Linked DNA regions of Homo sapiens: region 2 is linked to region 1. The links are contacts of gene promoters, found by promoter capture Hi-C in human tissues and cell types (Jung and others, 2019). All regions are on one chromosome and are shown on one strand. The core of a region is centred on a gene start or on the middle of the fragment in contact, and the rest is flanking DNA. Distances in the headings are between cores, read along the strand shown. Region 1 holds the start of ZBED2 (zinc finger BED-type containing 2). Region 2 overlaps PLCXD2 (phosphatidylinositol specific phospholipase C X domain containing 2).

Region 1 (4,538 bases), core at 1,451-3,950:
ATATAAGTTGGCAAAAAAGAGTTTCTCCATTTTTAACTGAATAAATAGAAGGCAATGTCTACTTTTAATATAGGTTGTGTTAGAACGTGCACTATAAATGGGCTATCTCCTATAGAGATGTTATAAACTTCTGGCTATACTCCTAGGTCAACTTAAGGATCTAGGACTATACTAATGTTCCAAGTCTGGATTCTGGGTTCTGTAAAGGAGAAATCTTAACTCTGTGTAGGCAGAATAAAATAATACTAAATGGAAACCAAAGAATAGAAGGAAGAAGCTATAGCAAACAGAGGCCAGAGAAGAATAGTCTGTTAGATTAAAAGCTCAAGGGGATCTACAAGCTGTTTCTGTGCTCCAAATAATGTACGACACTATTTGTAACAATCACAGAAAACGATTTATATAAATATCCTACTTTTTACTTGTGAAGCATTTTCCTAATTTTTAAAAACAATTCATTGGCTTAATCTTAAGGATAGGTAGAGCATGCCTTATTTTTGCCATTTGACCAATGGAAAAATCAAGGCACCCAGTGGTTCGAGGAAGTGGAAAATAGTTAATGGCACAATTAGAAACCATGTCTCCTTAATCTCAGTCCAACATATTTTTTAATAAAAATTGTATTGAAATAAAAAAATGAAAGAAGTAACTATATTATGAAAGCAGAGAACTTAGATGCAGGGCTAGTTATGTTTTATTTTCAATGCTATGTTTGTTCTTTGGGGGATGATACTTTCTTTTACAGTCTGGTGAAAATATCCAGTGAGAATTATTGGATTCCCATTGTTTTATCTGAGACTCTTCAAAATTATAATTCCTTTTATAATTACTTGTTTTCTCATCAAGAGATGTATATATTTTACATATGACCAGCCCTAGTTCTTAGTTCTCAGATATTTTCCACAATTAATGAATATACTAGTTAACATGTAAAGAACAATTAAATGTATGTGATGATTTGTGTGCCAATCCTCAGACTAGTTACTCCCAAGAAGTCTGGGCCTATAGAGCTGAGAAACCAAATTCGAGAATGCTAACTAACATTTTCCTGGTGAAATCCTACAGAAGTTTACTATTTCTCAGTACATTGCTACAGAAATCCCAATGAAACAAGAGAATTTCAGAGGGGGTTGTCTAGCATATCCAAGATGCTGGGTGGCAAACACCGTAGCTCCCAGTATTCCCATCCGTTCAACACTTGCCTTTCCAGATAATGGGGATACATATATGGGCCAGGGATGCTAGTCTCTCCACTAAAAAATTAAAAGCAAAACCAGATCCTCTAAAATACATTCTTATTAAGTAAAGGAGAGTGTTCAGTTTAATTCAATAGATGCCAAAGATTGATTTTTATCTCCAGTTGGTCCAGGAAGAGACAAAAAGGTAAAGGAGGTAAAATGTTTTTTTAAAAAAAGAAAAAGATACAAAGTTTTGCATTAATCCAGTGACATTAACCATTCTTATGATTCATTTCCTTTCTCTTTAGTTAACCCACCAAAGATGACGATATGGTAATATCAGGAGTAAGTGGGGGTGTTATTATTTTACGAAGGCAACTGGCTCACTGAAGAACTCTGGTTAACGTCTAAAAATTTTGAAAAGATTTGACTTTCATGAATTCTCTAGGTTCAGATTTTCTGAAATGATCCAAATTTCAAACATTCTAGACTCTCTCTAGACTTTGCGTTCCAAGATTTGGTTTAGAAATGTGGTTCATGTTCTAAAACTCCTCCCAGTCTCATTCCTATTTTGAATCTTTTTCCCCCATCTTTTTTTTCTATTTTAATTTAACTGTCAACCTCTACATATTTTCTGCTATGCCATTTCTTTTTCTTTTCTTTCTTTTTTTATTTTTATTTATTCATTTTATTTATTTATTTTTTTGAGACAGAGTCTCCCTCTGTCGCCCAGGCTGGAGTGCAGTGGCATGATCTTGGCTTACTGCAACCTCCACCTCCCGGGTTCAAGCAATTCTCTTGCTTCAGCCTCCCAAGTAGCTGGGATTACAGGCGTGCACCACCACACCTGGCTAATTTTTGCATTTTTAGTAGAGACAGGGTTTCACAATGTTGGCCAAGCTGGCCACGATCTCCTGACCTCAAGTGATCCACCTGCCTCGGCCTCCCAAAGTGCTGGGACTACAGGCAAGATCCATGGCTCCTGGCCTGCAATGCCATTTCTATCTTTCCTTTTATAACACAAAGTTTTTTCTTCTTCTATTGATACCTTCTTTAGAGTCTTCCTATCTCCTCTTGGTAGGTTTTCCTTCTCAATCTAAATATGTATACACACACATATATATATTATGCATATTATATATAATGTATGTATATATATAATATATATGTGTGTATACATTTAATATTTCAGCCTTTCCCACTCTTCCTCCTTCAAATCGCTTGCTTTACTTGAGAGGTTAGGTAATCTAGTCATCAAAAAAGAGAACTAAGACTTGTAGGTGCTTGACTTACTGTTTTGCTGCATGACATATGCCAGGAACATCCTTTTCTTGGTGGTGGAGGGGGTGGAGAAAAGGTTTGCATCTGTGTCTAAGTGTTGCAGAAAAACCCAACAGGCACAGACACACCTACCTGGAAACAATGCTTCCCTAGAAGTGGGAGGAAACCAGAACTGGAGGTGCCCTCCTTCTGGGGGTAGGAGTCAGCTAATAGACATCCAAGGTGTGCAGGAGTGCTTTCACTCTGCGCAGGAAAGATCAGAGAGAAGTCCAGAGCCTTGCCTGCTTGTAAGTACCCACTTGTGGCTGGGGGGAATTTCCTAACTGTTCACGGTTGCAGAGCTTGATTAAATAAAGCTCTCATTAGTTTAAGAAATGACCCAAGAAAGGAGAGAGAAGTCGGGCTGTTTTTAAATGTAATATGATTTTCCATTTACTTATTTATCTTTAAAATGAGGTAAAGAGCAAAACATCTGGAGTAAGTTGCCTCAGGAAGGTCTTATTGGCTGTTGGCTTTGCAGGTGATCCTGGTGGAGAAGGTGGAGTATGGTGAGCTGCTTGCTAAGGACAGCCAGGCAACGCTGTGTTTGTGAAGATGTGCTCCACCTTCTCCTCTGTGCATCCCAGCTCCTCCTGCTGAAACAGCTGAGCTTGCTTTTTGGATTTCTTAGACTCCTGGCCTCTGAGAGACACCTCTAAGGACAAACTGACCTTGCATTGGGAACTTTATTATCCAGATCCTCATAGGCTTTGTCTACTCTGGATTGCTTGTTGCAACAGTTCTTAGGAAGCAAGATTGTCTCCTGCACCAGCATCTGCCTGTGTTTGCTTTTACCTACTTTGAGCAAGACCCAGTGAGGCCCTAGCTCTGTTGGTCCTGAAAAGCCTGAACCCTGAGGCTGTTTCTCCTGCCTCCAAAATGCAATTATAGGAAATAAGAAGCACAGAAACAGTGGAAACAACCAGGAGGAGAAACAAGAAAACCTAAAATTTTCAATATTCAAAAATACCTGTCGTGGTGGTTGATGCAGAAAACACTGAGTTCATCAAAGAGCTTTGTAATTGTTGGACCAGAGAACCCCTTTGCTACAGGAACTGATATGTTTTGTCTTTCTGGCCTAGTCAAGGGAGGATAAGTAAGTATCTGGGGCATGGAAGGAATGCACTCTTGGGCTGTTTTGCTTGTATCTGACTCACCCCTGACTCTCCAGTGAAGCAGAAAGGAAGAAACCTCACACCACCCAGGTGTGGCCAGACTTTGGCCATTATTGTGAATCCCCAAGAGTTACCACAGGCCCTTCCCAAATATATATTTAATCTTGTGGTTCAAATAAGCTTTTGGCTCACATCTAAGCACATCATAAAGAACGCTGTAGAAGAGGTGACATGATGAGGCGGGAAGACGAGGAAGAGGAGGGAACAATGATGAAGGCAAAAGGGGACTTAGAGATGAAGGAGGAGGAAGAGATTAGTGAGACAGGAGAACTGGTTGGCCCTTTTGTGAGTGCTATGCCCACTCCAATGCCCCACAACAAGGGCACCCGGTTCTCTGAGGCATGGGAATATTTCCACCTAGCTCCTGCTCGTGCTGGGCACCATCCCAACCAGTATGCCACCTGCCGCCTGTGTGGCAGGCAGGTGAGCCGTGGCCCTGGGGTCAACGTGGGCACCACTGCACTGTGGAAGCATCTGAAAAGCATGCACAGAGAGGAGCTGGAGAAGAGTGGCCATGGTCAGGCTGGGCAGCGCCAGGATCCAAGGCCCCACGGGCCCCAGCTCCCCACAGGCATTGAGGGTAACTGGGGTAGGCTCCTGGAGCAGGTGGGCACCATGGCTTTGTGGGCCAGCCAAAGGGAAAAGGAGGTGCTTAGGAGGGAAAGGGCAGTGGAATGGCGGGAGAGGGCTGTGGAAAAAAGGGAGCGAGCCCTGGAGGAGGTGGAAAGGGCCATCCTGGAGATGAAGTGGAAGGTGAGGGCTGAGAAGGAGGCATGCCAGCGGGAGAAAGAGCTGCCTGCAGCAGTACATCCCTTCCATTTTGTTTAAATTGGGCTTGGAGAATCTATTCTGAAAACATTGACTC
Region 2 (4,604 bases), core at 1,425-3,924, 120 kb before region 1:
CTTCCTCTGTCCCCCAGGCTGGAGTGCAGAGGCGCGATCTTGGCTCACTGCAAGCTCCGTCTCCCGGGTTCACGCCATTCTCCTGCCTCAGCCTCCCGAGTAGCTGGGACTACAGGCGCCCGCCACCACGCCCAGCTAATTTCTTTGTATTTTCAGTAGAGACGGGGTTTCACCGTGTTAGCCAGGATGGTCTCGATCTCCTGACCTGGTGATCCGCCCACCTCGGCCTCCCAAAGTACTGGGATTACAGGCGTGAGCCACTGCGCCTGGCCTATATTTTTATATTAATAGCTGATTATGACTTAAAAGATCACCCTCCCAGGGGTACTTCCATTTTGAACGGGGACTCCTGAAGAGTGATAATAATAATGCTTCATACAGATTTTTGGGGAATTAAACAAAATAATACATGTAAAGTGTTTAGAAGAGTTTCTGTGATATGATAAGTGTGGTAAAAAAAAAAAGGTAAGGAATCATAACTGGAAGAGTGTGAGGTAGAAATATTTGGTGGCTGGGAGTAAGAAACTACACCTTAAAGAGGTCACATCCTCCTGCTTACGTGACAACATGTTGTGGTTTGGAAGTGAGAAGCTGCAAATACAGACTTCCTTAAAGATAGACCAAGGATACACAAGGAACCACACCAAGGACACAGTAGTACTGAACCTGATAGATTCAAGACTTCATTTTAAAAGCCTGAGTCAGTGTTGAAGTATGAGGTGCAGGCGCCCTCTGCTGGTCATTACAGGGAAATGAGCCTTAAAGGCTTGTAACTCCAGTCACTGCAGCCAGAGCCTCCTCACCTTGGAGGATCCCTGGAGCCTGAGCAGAGAAATGCAGTGAAAGGTATGTACCTGTGGTTTCCAGTGACAAAGAGTTCTGTGTCAGCTTCGGGTAGCATGTGTCAACCTTCTCCAAGGCAAGGATCAAATAATTAGGATTAAGTACGAAGAAGGGGAAATGCAGAACCCACAGTGAAGAGGAGCTACTTTATTTTCTCAGCTCTTGGTATTTACCAGGACAAGGGATCTGTGCAAAAGGCTGAACCTGACAGTGCTGACAGGCCCGTGAGGCAACAGTTCCCATGGATGGCAGAGCAGGAGGTTAAAAACTTCCCTTTGACCTTGGGGCCCAGCTGGGAACAAGGGTGGTCCATAGTGTTTCTGGGTGTCTTTACAAATAGGGATGGCATGTCTATTTTCTGCCAGCCACTGTGGCTGGCATTTTCATGTTAAGGCTACAATCTGATGAGGTTTATTAATCCTGTTTAACTGGTGAGAAAACCACAGCTCAGAGACCTCAGAAAACTTGTCCACGGCCACCCTGTTGCTCAGGGACTGCATTGATTTGCTAGGGCTACCATAGCAAAACACCACATACTGGTTGGCTTAAATGACAGAAATGTATTTTCTCTTGTTTTAGAAGTTGGACATCCAAGATCAAAGTGTCATCAGATTTCATGTCTCCTGAGGCCTCTGTCCTTGGCTTGCAGACAGCCGCCTTCTTATTGCATTCTCACATGGCCTTTCCTCTGTGAACACATATCTGTGGTGTCTCTTTGTGTGTCTAAATTTCCTTTTCTTTTAAGGATACCAGCTAGACTGGATTAGGGCCCACCCTAATATCCTCGTTTTGACTTAATTACCTCTTTAAAGGCCGTATCTGCAAATGTACCCACATTCTGAGGTAACTGAGAGTTGGGACTTCAATATGTGAGCTTGGGGATGGCGGGGATGGGACGGGGCACAACACAATGCACCCTGGAACAGGGAGCATGTCAGGCTGCACTCTCAGGCCTTCTGATTTCAGTCCATGTTCCCTTATAGAGTTCATGGATGCTCTGTCCTCAAGCTTAGGCAAAGCATTTTCATATGATTTCAGTGAGAGTGCCATGAACCTGAATTTCAGGTTTCTATAAGTCTGGGAGAAACCACCATGGAAATTGAGTCAAATGGCTATATTTCTTGTGGCTTCCTTCTACGGTGTTGAACCAAAATGAACAAGATCTTAGCTCCAAAGTTTATCGAAGAGTTAGGGGGTTAAATCCCTGCCGAGAAACCACCTCTACATTTGTAAGAAAATATACCCTGTCTTTTTTTTCTTGGTTTGAGCTGACCACCAGTGCCAGCGACCAGTTGTTAGGACAGACCCTCTGGGTGTTGGCACACAGGGGAAGGTCCTATGTTTGTTCAACAGCCCAGAGGAAATGACAGCCACACTCTGCACTGGCCTTTTGGAACAAACTCAACCAGAGCTATATTTTCCTCCTTCAGTTGATGTGCAGGACTAGGAATGCATGCATACTTGCAATATTCTTATGGCCGGCAGGGGGGCGAGATGCCAAAGAAAGTATCTTTCCAAGCTTGGGGACATTGGCTTGCTGCTAGCAGTAGTGCAAGGGCTCTGGCATAGTAGGATCCCTTGGCTTTGGGCGCATGCCAACATCATTATCTCTCATCATAAAGGAAAGAGCCAATGTTTCACTTGCAGCCAGATTAAAGTTTTAGGAATGTACAGATATGAAAAGCTTTGTGACATTGTGGGTTACTAGTTATAACCTGTGAGATATTACCAGATTCAGGTACTAATAAGACAACTGCAGGCCTGTGGAACAGAAAAGAATAAGCACAAAAATATGCAGTATCCAAGTCAGTGTCCAACGCTGAAAAGGGCAGTGGTCTAACGATCAGAAGGCCAGAGTCTGAGAGGTATTCTTGACTTTTACTAGCTGTATGGATTGGGGTCACTTAAGCTCCCTGAATCCCATCTAAAGAGGGGATGATAATATGCTGTAGACAATGTGCCATCCTAGAGGCTGACTTGATTTAAGAATCAAATGAAATCATCTGCAAAAAGCCATTTGATATTCAGAATATGGTATACAGATATAACTTATCCTTAGTTTTTTAAATACTCCCTCTCCATTATTAGTATGGCTGTCTGCACAGACTTCTTCACAGTGGTATTTCACATTGCTTTATAGAAATTTTCATGCCAGTTTCTGCTGCTAGACTGTGAGTTCCTTGACAGCAGACAGTATAATATTCACCTTGAATCTTTGTACCTAGCTCTTCCTAGGTGCTCAATGTTTGTTGAATGAATATATAAATAATGTTGATCTACAAATATACCAGAGGCATGAGGAAAACAGTGTGGATACACAAACATATTATTAAAACAATAAAGCTTCTAATTCGGGATCTTTCAAAGAGATATAGTGCTGGTTTATAAAATTCACTTTTCCAAGTTCAGCATAATGAATTCAGTCAAGACTTAGTAGAGCCACACAGAAAACACTTTCTGGTTTTGTCCATGGTTGACATAATCAGGAGCTCTCACCAAGAAAGAAAAATCTAGTCCTGCTGTCTAAACTCCTGCTAGGTGAACTCCTGTTATCTGAACTCATGTTACCTAAACTCAGGACCAAATAAATAGAAACATGTTTTTGGATGAATCTTTCATTATCTGAACTCTGCTCGTCAACCTGAAACTCAGGGACCAAACTGATTCTTGTAAATATCTTTTGCTACCCAAACGTATTAGCTTCCTTAGCTTGGATTGCAAGGGATTCCCTGTTATCCAAATGTATTTATAACATTCCTTTTATACATATACATATACACATACACATGTACAGGTACATAGACACATACATACACACACTCACATATATGTGCGCGCACACACACAAACACGCATACAAATAAACCATCCTTTTTCTTGAGAACATCTATCATTCATTGGTGTCCGGGATAAGGAACACCATCTGATACAAAATTACTGAAGCTTCTGCTATCTAATTGTACAACCAGGCTCAATTCTGCCCTGAGGAAGTATTTGAAGCTACAGCATGGGCATGGTGGGTGGCATCCTAAGCTGCTTCTTCAGTGACTCATGGTCACCATGGAAAGGAGAACAAATTCTTGAAGGGCCAGCTCTGAATCCTTAGCACCTAGGACAGCAGCCTATATTGAATGCTTCTTAAATGAGTGCCTGGGTCAGCTGCGAGGCACAGGCAGGACCCCATGTGGCCAGGTACCAGGAGTGAACAGACATGGTGTTGGCTCAATGTGCTTTGCCTTATAGCAAAATTTAGAGAGTACAGTATTTATGGTATGATGTGTACTTATGAACAAAGTGTTTAGAGAGCCTTTGTTAATACAATCCACCTCAACTGCATGGTTTTCTCGAATACAAAGTTTTTTGCTTGTTTTGTTGTTTTTCTAACTCCTCAGACTACATGGCTTTACTGCGATTTACTCAGAATAGAATCAAGATAAATATTTTTTAAAAAGCTTTCCTTGTGGGGTGGAAGCAAATTCTTACCTATGAACCAGCGTGTTCTTGAGGCCCCCAACCAAGCCCCGGGCAATGGTCTTCACTCTGGGGGTGAGGATCGCTTGGGAGACATGGAAGGAGCCCCGTGAGGCCCGCTCACTCAGAGTGGTCTCCAAGAAGAGGATTAGTTTGCGCACACTTGTGGTGTTTGCCCAGGGCGCTGGAATCTTCTTTCCTGGCCACAGGAAGGGGTACTGCTTGTAGAAGGGACAGTGGTAGAAAATAAGAACCTGAAATATTCAAAACACAAAAAGGAGAGCAATCCA

The links. The method cuts DNA at HindIII sites, captures the fragments that hold promoters and counts their contacts. A contact is called where the count stands out against the background at its distance.
Region 2: a contact is called between a fragment that was not itself captured here and the fragment with the promoter of ZBED2 in region 1, in 3 of the 25 tissues and cell types used here (IMR-90 fibroblasts, bladder and mesenchymal stem cells).

What each region holds. Positions count from the first base shown.
Region 1 is chr3:111,593,508-111,598,045 of GRCh38, reverse strand. It overlaps ZBED2 (zinc finger BED-type containing 2), which reads left to right and starts at 2,700. Exons shown (of 2, transcript NM_024508.5): 1 at 2,700-2,746; 2 at 2,980-4,538. The coding sequence starts at 3,845. The coding sequence ends at 4,501. All of the region lies in intron 5 of CD96 (CD96 molecule), which reads right to left. The HindIII fragment of the contact is 9,781 bases long and covers 1-4,402 here.
Region 2 is chr3:111,713,851-111,718,454 of GRCh38, reverse strand. PLCXD2 (phosphatidylinositol specific phospholipase C X domain containing 2) reads right to left here. Exons shown (of 4, transcript NM_001413064.1): 3 at 4,327-4,568. Among named protein-coding and RNA genes, the nearest start is that of PLCXD2-AS1, 39 kb to the right of the region's middle. The HindIII fragment of the contact is 4,188 bases long and covers 581-4,604 here.